Regions from separate parts of the Homo sapiens genome. Here region 1 is linked to region 2. The links are contacts of gene promoters, found by promoter capture Hi-C in blood cells and fetal thymus (Javierre and others, 2016). All regions are on one chromosome and are shown on one strand. The core of a region is centred on a gene start or on the middle of the fragment in contact, and the rest is flanking DNA. Distances in the headings are between cores, read along the strand shown. Region 1 holds the start of LOC124900682 (a long non-coding RNA gene). Region 2 holds the start of LCORL (ligand dependent nuclear receptor corepressor like).

Region 1 (6,897 bases), core at 1,665-4,164, 6.6 Mb after region 2:
TTTTATATCAGACACTTGAACCTCCACGGACTTTAGTGTCGGCAGTTTCTCCTGGAACCAATCCCTAGTGGATACTGAGGGACAATTGTGTTGACTTTTTTCAGATCATGATGTATAATCACTGGATTCCATCTGATTTTTCTCTTTTTGCTTAATTTTACAAATGAGGGAAACTGAACCCCTAGGTCTTATTGAAGTTCACACAATCAGTTGGTATCAAAGTCAGAATAAAATACAGATTTCACTTGAAGTATTAAAATCTCAGTCTTCAGGTTTCCAGTTTGATGACTGCTATAAAGTGCTCTAAAATTTTGGAGAAATAATCAGGGAAAAAAGTTAGAATTCTACCTGCAGAAGTGCTCCACTCAGATGTCAGCCTCTCATAAATGATGAAAGAGGAACTGAAATCAAGGTGATGAGACTTTTCCCTTGGGCCTAGGTTACAGCTAAAGAAAACCATAACCTCATCAGTTGTGTTGTGACCTGAACAATTAAAGAAAGGCCCTGGGCAGGCGTGGTGGTTCACACCTGTAATTCCAGCACTTTGGGAGGCCGAGGCAGGTGGATCATGAGGTCAGGAGTTCGAGACCAGGCTGACCAACATGGTGAAACCCCGTCTCTACTAAAAATACAAAAATGAGCCAGGCATAGTGGCACATGCCTGTAATCCCAGCTACTCAGGAGGCTGAGGCAGGAGAATCACTTGAACCCGGGAGGTTGAGGTCGCAGTGAGCCAAGATTGTGCCACTGCACTCCAGCCTGGGCAACAGAGCAAGACGCCATCAGAAAGAAAGAAAGAGAGAAAGACAGAAAGGAAGGAAAGAAGGAAAGAAAGAAAGGAAGAAAGGAAGGAAAGAAGAAAGGAAGAAAAGAAGGAAAGGAGGAAAGAGAAAGGCCCTACTTATTGAAGGATAGTGACCTCTCTGGAATCTAGAATAAGGGGAACAAGTGGCCAGAGGCTGCCAGGATGTGCACACTCCTTGGGAAGAAGGGTAGAATTCTAGGTCTAAATGATCCACCCTGGATTTTCAGACATCATTATCCCTGGAGTAGAGAAAAGGCACCCACCAGGCCCTCCACAAACTTGGCTGGAAATATTTCCAGATAATATCCTATTTTCCCTTACTGTTACTCTTTCTCTACTAGACAACCCTCTGGCCTATGACATGGACTTTCTCACCTGGAGGAAATGTCTTATGCAGCTAACCAGCTGCAGGGTCTCAAGTCAACCTAAATTAATAAAAAATAATTGCTAATAGCAAACACATACAAAGCACTATGAGCCAGATGCTGTTCCTTACACATTTGAGCCTATTTGAGACTTACAGCAACTTCAAGTTTAGTCCAATGAATTACTCTTATTTACAGCTGAGGAAACTGTTACTCAAAGAGGCAAGTATTTTGGCCAAGATGACAGTTCTGAGATTCAGCCCAGACAGTGTGTGTGCTTAATTGCTATGTTCTGCTGCGGCTGATAAATAGATATTCTCGTTCCACTTTATTCGTCTAAGGTGTGGTTACTGAAGATAAGTTCTCCCAGTCTGACAAGATGAACATGAACTGATAAAACTTCTGCATTGTCCATGTAGAGAACTAGTTTACAGAACTCTCAGTGGACAAGTGGGGATTTGGATTATTTGAACCCAGTCCAACTCTAGAGCCGCACTATTGACCATTGTACAGTATCACTATTACCATTTATTTATTCAATCAACAAATATGTATTAAGCTCCCATGTCAGGCATTAAGTGCTGGGGAAAGAGGAAAGAAGAAAATAGCCATAGTTCTTGCCTTCATAAAACGTGGCAGAGGGAGAGAGACAGGCACTGAACAGCTAAACACATAAATAACTATGTTGTTATCACGATGATAAGTGCTGAAAAGGCCAGCTACAGACGACAGGCATTGTGAGAGCATATAACAAGTGGCCTTGATCTACATTGAGGGTTAGGGAATGCCTCTCTGAGAAAGAAACATTTAGACAAAAACCTTAAAAATAAATGCAATCCCAGCACTTTGGGAGGCCAAGGCAGGCAGATCACCTGAGGTCAGGAGTTCAAGACCAGCCTGACCAACATGGAGAAACCCCATCTCTACTAAAAATACAAAATTAGCCGGGCATAGTGGTGCATACCTGTAATCCCAGCTACTCGGGAGGCTAAGGTGGGAGAATTGCTTGAACCCAGGAGGCGGAGGTTGCGGTGAGCCAAGGTCACATCATTGCCCTCCAGCCTGGGCAACAGGAGCAAAACTCCATCTCAAAAAAAAAAAAAAAAAGAATGCAAATTGTCCAGGCAGAGAGGGCAGAAAGCATTCCAAGCAGAGGAAACAGCCTGTGCAAAGGCCCTGAAGCTTTAAAAAGTCAGGTGCGACCCACAGACAGAGAAAACAACATGGATGTGTTGAGATGAGGAATTTGTCATCTGTGATCCTGCAGATGCAAGAACAGGGCATATCATGCCCCATCTGAGGAGTCCTGCTGAGGAGGTAAGCCTTTATCCTTCCTAAAACAAGAGGAAAACAGAAATGAGATTTAAGTGGGAAAACAACATGATCACTCATGAGGATTTGCCAGGATCAATCCACCAGTCTCCCTCTTTGAATCCTCTTTAGCAACAAAATGCTTACAAATTTGAAAGAATTTTCAGTACTATTTTTAATCACCTTATCCTCTCTCTAGTAAGAGACAGAAATAGTTACAAACTATAGTGGTGCTATGGCTTGCCATCAAAATCTCACTTTCATAATGAGACATCCCTCAGCTCTGGGAGTGCTTGCCACCTGCACACGATCCTCGTGTCAGCCCTCTTCAGAAACTTCCATGGCTAAAGAAAGCTGCCATGCCCAGGGGCAGCCTGAATACATTCTACAGGTATAAAGGCTTGGCCTGTCTACCAACTTAGGACAACTGTGAGCTTCAGAGCATCTGAACCCTCTGTGGGATCAGCTGAAGTCTTTGTTATAATGGCATCTGATGTACCCCAATGCAATTTGGCCAGTAACAATCCAGAGTTACCTCCAATCCCACAAGTTAAGGCCACAGTCCCAAGCAAGACTGAAGATGTCCCCACTCCAGACACCATCCATAAGTTCAGGGGTCTGCAGGCCACCAGCACTCCGGCCCAACTGGCTACAAATTCAGAGTTTCTCACAATTCCATCATATTTGATAATTTACTAGAATAACTTATAAAACTCAGGAAAGCACTATACTTATGGTTGCTGTTTTATTATAAAGGAAACAAATCAGAGCGTCTGTGTCCTCTCCCCATGGAATTAGAACATGTGACCCTCCCTCACATCCATGTCCTTACAAACTAGGATGTTCCACTGAGCTTCAGTGTCTGCAGTTTTTATTGGGGTTTCATTATGTAGCCATGATTGATTGACTGAATCATTGGCTCCATGATTCAACTCAATTTCCAGCCTCCTTTCCCTGCTTAAAGGTCAAGAGATTGGGCTGATAACATGTGGCTCAAAGCTTCAACCCTTTAATCACATGGTTGGTCTTTCTGGGATGACCAGTTCCCATCCTGAGTTATCTCCTTAGCACTAATTCAGATGTCGTCCAAGGGCCCAACATAAAGAGAGTAACTCTTTAGGGAATAAAGGGAATACATAAACCTAAAGAGAATAAAGGGAATACATAAAGAGAATAAAGGGAATATATAAACCAGGATACACAAACCAGGAAGTCACTGCATATTCACTAAAGAGAGCAACAAAGATACTCTTATGACTTGGGAGACCCCAAGGATTTAAAATGAACCAATCCCGTGAACCAGGGATAAAGGCCAGTCAAATTCATTGTCATGCAACAGCATCACAGTCAACTTTTCCTTATCTGATTCTACTTTTATCTTTTCTTTCCACTGATATTGATCCTAAATGTACTTCTTAATAAACATTCTAAATGCTAATCTTTGCCTCAGAGTCTAGTTTTCATGGAAGCCGACCTAAAAGATTTGGTGCCAGAAGTGGTGCCAGAAAGAAAGCAGACATTATGATTGGATTTTGGAGTTGGTCACCCATTGCTGGCTGGCAATGAATCTGTGGTGGAGGTAGGACACAAGGAAGCAGGGCAATTGTTAAAACTTTCACCTGTAGCTTACTGGGAAAAAAGCATGTGGTGTACTGCAAAAGGCATGCAGTTCTCACATATGGGGGAACTGGTAACTATAAGCTCCCTAGAATTTGATGGCTATTGCTAAGTAGAATTAATATTTTGGGGAGAGATAATGAAAGGCTGGAAGTTATTTATCTGCAATTCAAAACTAAGCATGAAAACCAGAAATCCTATGAGGGAGCATATAAAAAGGTTTTCATTTCTTGCAGTGGAAAGGCAGAGAAAACTGAAAGGCAGTTCCAGGACTTAAACATAATAGTAGCAGAAAATTAAGTGGAAACTTCCAAAGAAGATTAAACTCTCCACTTAGGCAATTGTGATATACCAAGGTTAGGACCCTGGATGGGAAATAGTGGGACTCTGACACATGGGTGGGGACATCTGGGTTGATGTACTTGAAAAATTTTGAATCCCTAGATTCCCCTCAACCCACTGAGTCTGCCAAAGTACTCTACTTTTCTGTATTAAAAGCTCGTGTTCCTCTCTTGTAAAATGATGCAGAGGTTTCCTCTCTGCAGAATAACGTCTACCACCCTTTTCAGGATACATAAACCAGGAAGTCACTGCATATGATATTCCAGGGACATCACTACATATGATATAAGTATATCATAAGCATCCATCTTTGGCTTAATTTGGTTGTTCAGATTGAGAACTTCCTTTGACGTTTGTCCATTTATTTTCCTCCAGATGCCTTATTTAATTTATTGTCTCCAAAACTTCTGTAAGTAAAGTTCCTTTGACTGCCATTTCTTACAGTGGGAAGGCAGAAAAAAGTATATGATATAAGTATCACATGATACAAGGTCATATCACTACATATGATATTCCAAGAACATCTGATACGGTGTGGCTGTGTCCTAACCCAAATCTCATCTTGAATTGGTGTTCCCATAATTTCCATGTGTCTTGGGAGAAACCTGGTCGGGGGGTAATTGAATCATGGGGATGAGTCTTTCCCATTCTGTTCTACTGATAGTGAGTAAGTCTCAGGAGATCTGATGGTTTTATAAAGGGGAGTCCCCTGCACATGCTCTCTTGCCTGCCACCATGTAAGATGTGCCTTTGCTCCTCCTTTGCCTTCTGCCATGATTGTGAGGCCTCCCCAGCCATGTGGAACTGTGAGTCCATTAAACCTCTTTCCTTTATAAATTACCAAGTCTTGGGTATGTCTTTATTAGCAGCGTGGGAACAGACTAATACATCAGAGGACACATAATATTGGCATACAATCCTACTCAAAGAAGCTGTAGGACCCAGCCAACAGGTACCAGCAGGAACCAGAGGAGTTGGCACAGGACCAAATTCTTTTTTTTTTTTTTTTTTTTGAGACAGAGTTTCGCTCTTGTTGCCCAGACTGGAGTGCAATGGCGTGATCTTGGCTCACTGCAACCTCCACCTCCTGGATTCAAGTGATTCTCCTGCCTCAGCCTCCTGAGTAGCTGGGATTACAGGCATGTGCCACCACGCCCAGCTAATTTTGTATTTTTAGTAGAGATGGGGTTTCTCCATGTTGGTCAGGCTGGTCTTGAACTCCCAACCTCAGGTGATCTGCCCGCCTCAGCCTCCCAAAGTGCTGAGATTACAGGCGTGAGCCACCACGTCTGGCCAAGGACCGAATTCTGAAGGTTATGAATGTCAGGGTGGGGAGGTGGAGCATACAGTTAGATAAGGGAGAATTTATCAAGTTGGTAATACTCTCCTAGCATACAAGATTTAACACTCATGCAAGGATCCTGGGTGATAGTGTGAACACACTTAGGATGTCATCTAGAAGCACAGAGAAATCAATGGCTCACAGTACACCTGGTTACATAGAGATGCCAAAACTGCTTTGGTTTACATTGTAAGGAGGGACTAAATGGCTCAAAGAAGTGAGCTTGCTAGAGTGAATATACTTATATAAAAATGGAAAACCCAACAGATGAATATATTTCAAAGGAAAGTTCAGAGTATACACCACTTACCAAATCAATAAGGCATTATCTGGTTAGAGAGGAATCAGCATCACTCTAAGACTCAGCAGTGGTTCTCCCTGTAGTCCAGGGTGAAGACAGAAGATACCATTTCAGAACTGGGTTCACTGAGAACAGTAGAGATGATGGAACCTTGTAACACTGAAGTGACATGATGGCACTCAAACTTCAACAGCCAAATGGACACTGCAAGGCAAGAGCGGCAGTCCAGGGGGCTTTACCCACAGATGTTTTGGAGATGACAAATAAGCCATCTGGAGCAAAAGAAATGGGCAACCATCAAAGAAAGTCTTCAATCTGAACAACCAAATTAAGCCAACAATGGATGATCAAGAGGTTAAAGGCTGATGCTCTGATACAAAGTCATGATCACTTGCCCAGTTTCTGGACTTGAACCAGTTTTTGGACCTAGAATATATTTAATTGGAGGGAGAGGGCATGTCCCTAGAAGAAAGAACTCTGCAGCACCAGCACAAGTGTACACAGTAATAATTCCCCAAGTCCTTCCCTCAAGTGATCTATAGCCATTTACTTAGGTGGCCATACACTGGAGAAAAGGGAATATCTAACGATTTCAAGGACATCATGGACACAGTGTGTAAAATGACATTGATACCAAGAGACTCAGAGTTTCATTATTGGCCCTTTCTTAGCATGGAGATATATGGAAATCGAGACTGGATGTCTGGCCCAGGTCCAGCTCATGGTAAGTCTACAGCGTTCTCAAACTACTTGCTATGCCCCCAGTATACAAACATACACATAGAATAAACATCATTAGTAGTTTGTGCGACCC
Region 2 (6,259 bases), core at 1,106-3,605:
CTGTGGGAAACAATTCTCAAATATAGTTAGAAGCCAGGGACAAAATTTCTTTTCACATACGATACAATGTAATCACATATTGCAATAAAAGTGTAATACAGTAGTAACTTTCAATGTCTTCCAATTTTACTTGAATATACAAGTAGGTAAGGCAAAAAGATATTCTAGTCCCCTTTTCCATCAAATCCAATGAATTGTGTTTCATTTAAAGTTTGACTATTTTTCAAGTCTATCTATTTTTATGATGCAAAGCTATACTTAATGTATCTAAATAAGCAAGAAGACCAGAAAAAAAAACCAACCAAAATATTCCAAAACATAAAAAGACATCCTCAAATCACTTTGTGCCTTGACAAAACTTAACAGTAATATCATAAGCCAGTGTTGCAATGCTGTCATCCTACCTAATTCTACCTAAATGAGCTCAGTAATTTCTAAATTGGTTTCCAGAAGAGATCTTTACATAAGCAATTATCAAAAACAGCCCATTTTGTATTCAAGAAGCACAAACAACAATATTTAGTTTTTTAAACAATTTATATAAAGAATACCTAGAGGTTTTTTTTTACACTTCATAAACTAAAATCACTTACGAATACTTGACTAAAGCTATTTCTCATCATCTTTCCTTAGAGAAGACCAAAATACATTTTTCGTAAGGGCAAAACAAAAGCAGTAAATTACTTAAACATCACTTAAATGCCCCCTAAAGTAACCTTCCTTTCTCATACATTTTCCTATATTCATCGCGTTCTGCGGTACACATTTCTGAACTGAAATTGTATTAAGTTTAACCTAATACGATCTCTTCTCTACTAGTCAAAAAAAGATCTTAAGACGTTAACCAAATACATGGGAGGCGGGGTCGGGGGTGCGAGGTGGTGCCAGAGCAGATGGAAACAAGGTAAGAGAGTTGTTTTCTTAAGACACTAGGGTTACTCCCCAACTCCAAATGCCAAGATTCACTCGCCAGTAGAGCAAGCTGCTGCCACTATCCACTGCTTACACAATACAACCTTCCTTTCTACCTCTTCCCCTACACTCCCACCCATAACCCCCTTCCAAAACAAACACCCACAACGCGCCCCATTCCATAATCCGTGTTCGCCCCTCTAAGCCCACTAAACCAACCTGCTGGATAACAGCTCTATGCATTCGTCTTAGGCAAAAAAAGAAAAAAAAAAAAGCGACTGCAGCAAGGTCGGGAGTCCCACCATTCCTGTCACCCTAAACAATCCACAGGGTGAGAGCCCCAAGCCCAGAAGTTTGAGGCAAAACGATTCAGATCCAACCAAAAAGAGGGAATTGCAGTTGAATGGGGATGGGAGGTGGGGAGGGCGATGCGTATGCGTGTATATGTGTGTGTGTGTGTAAGGAAGAGTCCATCACATGACAGTGAAAGAGGACCAGAGTCGTCGGGGCGTCCGCAAGCAGACGGGGGGGAGGGTGTCGTTGCCGTGGCAACACCCCCCATCCGTCCAGACTTCCAAAGAGGGAGGAAGAACTTCAAATCCCAACCGTCAGCGCTCAAGCGGCTCCTTCTTAAAGGGGTACACACAGCGCCGCCGCCGAGCGCGAGAGGGCAGAGTTGGGCGCCCCCCGCCCCTCGGACGACGCCCCCGCCGCCCCTCGCCCCCAGCCGGCCCATCAGCGGCCCCCGCCCTGCGAGTGCCCGTGGGTCTCCAGGTCCAGGTCCCCGGGAACTGGCCGCGTCTGCTCACCCGGCCCCCGGCGGCGACAAGGGGGTGTGTGTGCGCTCGGCGGGGGCGCGGACCAGCCCGCCTTCCTCCGGCCGCCCTGCCCGCCGGCTCTCCTCCGCCAGGGCGCCGACCCACCGGGCCGCTTCCTCCGTCCTGTCAGGGTGGACGGCGGGCGACGGCGGGCAGCGACGGGCGCCGAGGAGTTTCGGGGAGAGAGCGAGCGGGCGGCTTCCGCGGGGGCTCAGCAAGCGGGTCCAAACTAACAGTTCCCGGGGAGCCCAAGAGCTGGGAAGGCGAAGGAGCGCGGACCGCGCCGGGCCAGCAGCCCGCAAGACAAAAGGCGAGCGCCGGGGCCGCCGCGCCGCGCCGCTCCCATCTCGCTCCCCCACCGAACTAACCCGAACGGGAGATTCAACTAAACCCCTCAGCCACAAACTCCTCGGGCTGCGACAGCGGTCGCCGCGCGGAGCCCGGGGCCCCGGCCCGCGTCTCTCTTACCTACACAGTGCATGAGGCGGTGGCGCCAAGAGTCGAGTTCCCGCCGGAATCCTCTTCTCTCCGCCGCGCACCGAGGGCTCCGGCACTGAGCGGCGGCGGCGGCGGCGGCAGCAGCGGCGGCGGCAGCGGCCATTCTCTCTCTTCCCTTGTCCATCTGCGTCCCGCGTCACGCGCCCTCATTTACATACGAGCAGCGCAGGCACGAGGCAGGGGCGCGAGCCCTCGGCGCGAGCCCCGGAGCGCGCGCCCCCCGGAGGGGGGTTGATTGACACGTGTCACTACCTTCCCTCTGCCCTGCCCTCCCCCTCCCACCGCTCCCTCAGGGAGAGGCGGGGAGGGAGCCAGAGGAGAAGGAAGCAACCTGCCGCTTCCGCTGACCCCGCCTCCCCACCCACTACCCTCCTCCCCCTCCCGCTGGAGTTTACTCAGGCGAGCCATACCGCTCCCGCCGCCCGCGAAAACCCTGAGCGGGAGCGAGAGACCCGGAGCCCAGCCAGGAACCGGCGTGCTAGTGGAGCGGACTAGCAACGCCTACTTTCTGCCTTCACTACGGGACTCCGACAGTCCGGAGACTTCACTTCCCAGGCTCCATTTCGCCAGGATCCCGAAGCTGAACTTGGCGCCGTGGCGCGTTGCTTGCCGGTCATTGTAGTCCAGAAGAAAGGATTTTTTTTGTTTGTTTGTTTTTCTTCCCCCCCGCACTTGGGTATGCAGGCTGGCCTGCAACTTCTCTGCGCCGCGCCGCTGGGGGGCTGAGTCTGTCGCTCCCTGCGCCCGGAACCATGCGCTGCCCGGTGGCCGGGTCTGACCCGACTGCTTTAGCTTCCTTAGGCTCCGCGATAGAAGGGTGGTGGAAGCCGCAAGAGTTGTCGGCTCCTTGTGGGTTCAGGCTGCGCTTTGCGTTTTAAGTGCTGGAAACTTTCCGGGGTCGCTGTCTTCCTGTCACTCCGCAGGGAAAGGGCAAGCCGGTCATTCGGCTACATCTGGAATAACTGCCAAACGTCCAGAGAGAGATCCCGGAGTGACTTCGGTATTCAAGGCGAAGAGATCTCGGAAAGCCAGAATATTTGCAAGGACTAGGAAAAAGATGCGGGTTTTTTTCACTGAAAATTACTTGCAGGGGACTGGGTGTAGCCGGCTGAAAACTGCAGAAGGAAAATTTTCTTTATAAGCTCCTGGAGGGCAGCGACCCACTGAGATCTCTGTACCGTGACATCTGTCACTCGCTAGACCCTAGTACAGTGCGTGACACGGGATTAAGCACTTTACAAAGGTTAATGGAATGAATTCTACCACGTGCTAGAGAAAATAACTTCTTCAGAGAGAGCTAGAGAGGAATCTTACGTTTAAATACAGACTCCAATCACAGTTTTTACTTTTGCACCAGAGCGATTGTGCGTTTGTTTCCGTATAAGTGCAGTTTATCAAGCCGAAGCTAAGCTACCCAACGTTTGCTAAGAAGTACTGTGTATTTCTGGAAATTTATTCACAAGTCTGTGGGAAATATGTTTAATTCTTCTTGGAAATCTCATAAACTCTGAATTCAGTACCACCTTCCCTGTTTTGTGGCTTATCCTTATCCACCTTCTTTTTCTTCCTATGAGAAAGTATTTCTTTGCTCATTATGACTTCAGTAGTGAAGATGTAATTTTGCATCTTCATAAGTTAAAAATAATAAAGTTTGAACGCATAATCACCTTTTCTAGAACGGTCACAATTGGAGTGCAGGTGAAATCACTAGTGAAGGTGATTTTGGAATTGTCAGTGGATGGTTTTAGTTAACCACTTCCACTCACAATTGCCACGATGATCAGCCTTTGCAGTTTTCCTGATCACTTTTATAGTAATCTACATTAGTTAGGATGGGAAAAATTATGGTGCAGTAATAAATGATCCAAGAATCTTAGTGGCTTAAAACAACAACAAAAAACTATTTCCTGATTATCTACATGTTCATCTCTGGGTGGCAGGAGGAGGGGGCTTCATTCCATGTGGTCTCACTAAGCAACTGGATCCTTAAAGAGGCTGGAATCTCTGCAACGTCCCCCCTTGGGTGATAGGCAAAAGGAAGATGAAGAATGGCGAACTGGTTCTTCCTAAAAGTGATACAAGTCAGTTCTCACATTTCATTGACCAAAGCGAATTATTCGGGCGTATCTATCTTAAAGGGAGCAGGGAAGTGCGATCCTATTATATGTGCAAAAAGAAGATAACCAGAATTTATTGGTAAATAGTATCAAGGATTACTGTGATCTATCCTTCTGGTCACCAGTTTACAGTTCACTTTCTTCACACTACAAAATAGATTTACTCCTATCACAAAGTGAGACAATCCAAAAGTTCTGTTCAGTAAAGGCATTAATCTCAAAGTCTGGCATCTCTGGGTGATGGTTGGTAGTCTCCATATTGGAACTGGATAAAGCTTCTCTTGTTATAGACAACTAAAAAGATAAGGTATTCTCCCCAGATCTCTCTCACTCGCGATCTCTCTTCTCTCTCTCTCTCTCTCTCACACACACACACACACAGACACACACGCACAGTGATGGAATAGGGACTAAATAGACATGGTGTCTTAGTCTATTTTGTGCTGCTGTAATGGAATACCGCTGACTGGGTAATTTATATGAAGAGCAGACATTTATTGCTCATGGTTCTAGGGCCTAGAAAGTCCAAGATCAGGGTGCTGGCATCTAACAAGGGCCTTCTTGTTACATGGCCCCACAGTGGAAAGGCAAAGAGAAGGCAAGTGAGTAAAAGGGGGCCAAACTCATCCTTTTATAATGAACTCACTCCTGCTATAAAGAATCCACTCCCTTGATAATAGCATTAATCCATTCACTATGCCCTCATAGCCTGTCACTTCTCATTAGGCCACAGTTCCCAACACTGTTGCATTGGAGTTTATGTTTCCAACATGTGCTTTTTCGTGGGCAAATTCAAACCACAGCATATGGTAAACATTCCTGTTTAGAAAGGAGAAAAATGGGAGACACACATGAACCGTTTCAGCAAATATTTTACGACAGTTAGCATCTCCAACTTTCCAGCCTCTGACAATTTCCTTGCTACCACCCACTGAGCCTCTAAGTTAAAGCCACATATTTTAGATTTTCTGTTATAACTGTACCTCCTTCTGGGTGCCAATTTATATATTAGTTAGAATGTGCTATGTTCTGCTCCAGTAACAAACCCAAAATCCAGTAAACTCAAAACCTCAGTGATTTAATACAAAGGTTAATACAAAAGTTTATTTCATAGTACACTATCTGTCTTCCAAAGGTCAGTGTGGAAAAGGGTGGAAAGAACATGAGCCCTATAAGCCTCATGTCCATCTCGGGACTGAGGCTTCTGGGGCTATGCCATTTGGAAGCTCCCCAGTCACCATGACGAGAAAGATGATGCTAAATCACAGTCCAACTCTTAAAGGCTTCTACCAGAAGTGACACATTTCAGTAGATGAAGCAAATTTTATGGTCATGCCTGACTTTTAAGGAGTTATATATTAGATAGCTTTGAGGGCAGGACAAACTACCCCACAACTTAGTACCTTGAAACACCAACTAATCATTTAGCTCATAATTCTGTGGAATGAAAATTTGTGCTAGGCTCAGCTGGACATTTCTGTTGGCCTCTACTGGACTCACTCAGGTGTTTGTGGTCAGCTGCCTGTCAGCAAGGCAGCTCTGTTTCTGAGGATTCACTGACTGTCAGCTAGGAACACAGAGCAATGAGGCCAAGTATCATCAAGAGGCCAGTCCTAGCCCTAGCTTATTCACATGGTGGCAGTCAGAGGGATCCAAAGTGCTGCAAGAGAAGAAGTCCCCATGCACACTTTTCAAATCTCAGTTTGAGTCACATTTGCTCTGGTTTCAATGGCTAAAGCAAGTCACATGGCCAAGCCCAGAGTCGATATGGGGAGATAGATTCTACCTCTTAATAGAAGGATCTGCAAGTCACATTGCAAAGGGATTTGGACAGAGGGAAATAAATAATTTGTGGCCACTTTTGTAGTCTACCACATTTCGGGAAGTGCAAGATTACCCTATTCTCCAAAAAAA

The links. The method cuts DNA at HindIII sites, captures the fragments that hold promoters and counts their contacts. A CHiCAGO score of 5 or more calls a contact.
Region 1: a fragment that was not itself captured here is called in contact with the fragment with the promoter of LCORL in region 2 in 1 of 17 cell types (total CD4 T cells); the score reaches 5.5 in total CD4 T cells.

The regions. Positions count from the first base shown.
Region 1 is chr4:24,586,902-24,593,798 of GRCh38, forward strand. LOC124900682 (a long non-coding RNA gene) reads right to left here and starts at 6,613. Exons shown (of 2, transcript XR_007058078.1): 1 at 6,093-6,613; 2 at 1,686-2,504. The HindIII fragment of the contact is 1,128 bases long and covers 2,351-3,478 here.
Region 2 is chr4:18,019,400-18,025,658 of GRCh38, forward strand. It overlaps LCORL (ligand dependent nuclear receptor corepressor like), which reads right to left and starts at 2,356. Exons shown (of 8, transcript NM_001394446.1): 1 at 2,199-2,356. The coding sequence starts at 2,352. RefSeq lists silencers at 1,568-1,897, 2,218-2,677 and an enhancer at 2,728-2,987. The HindIII fragment of the contact is 12,000 bases long and covers 1-4,618 here.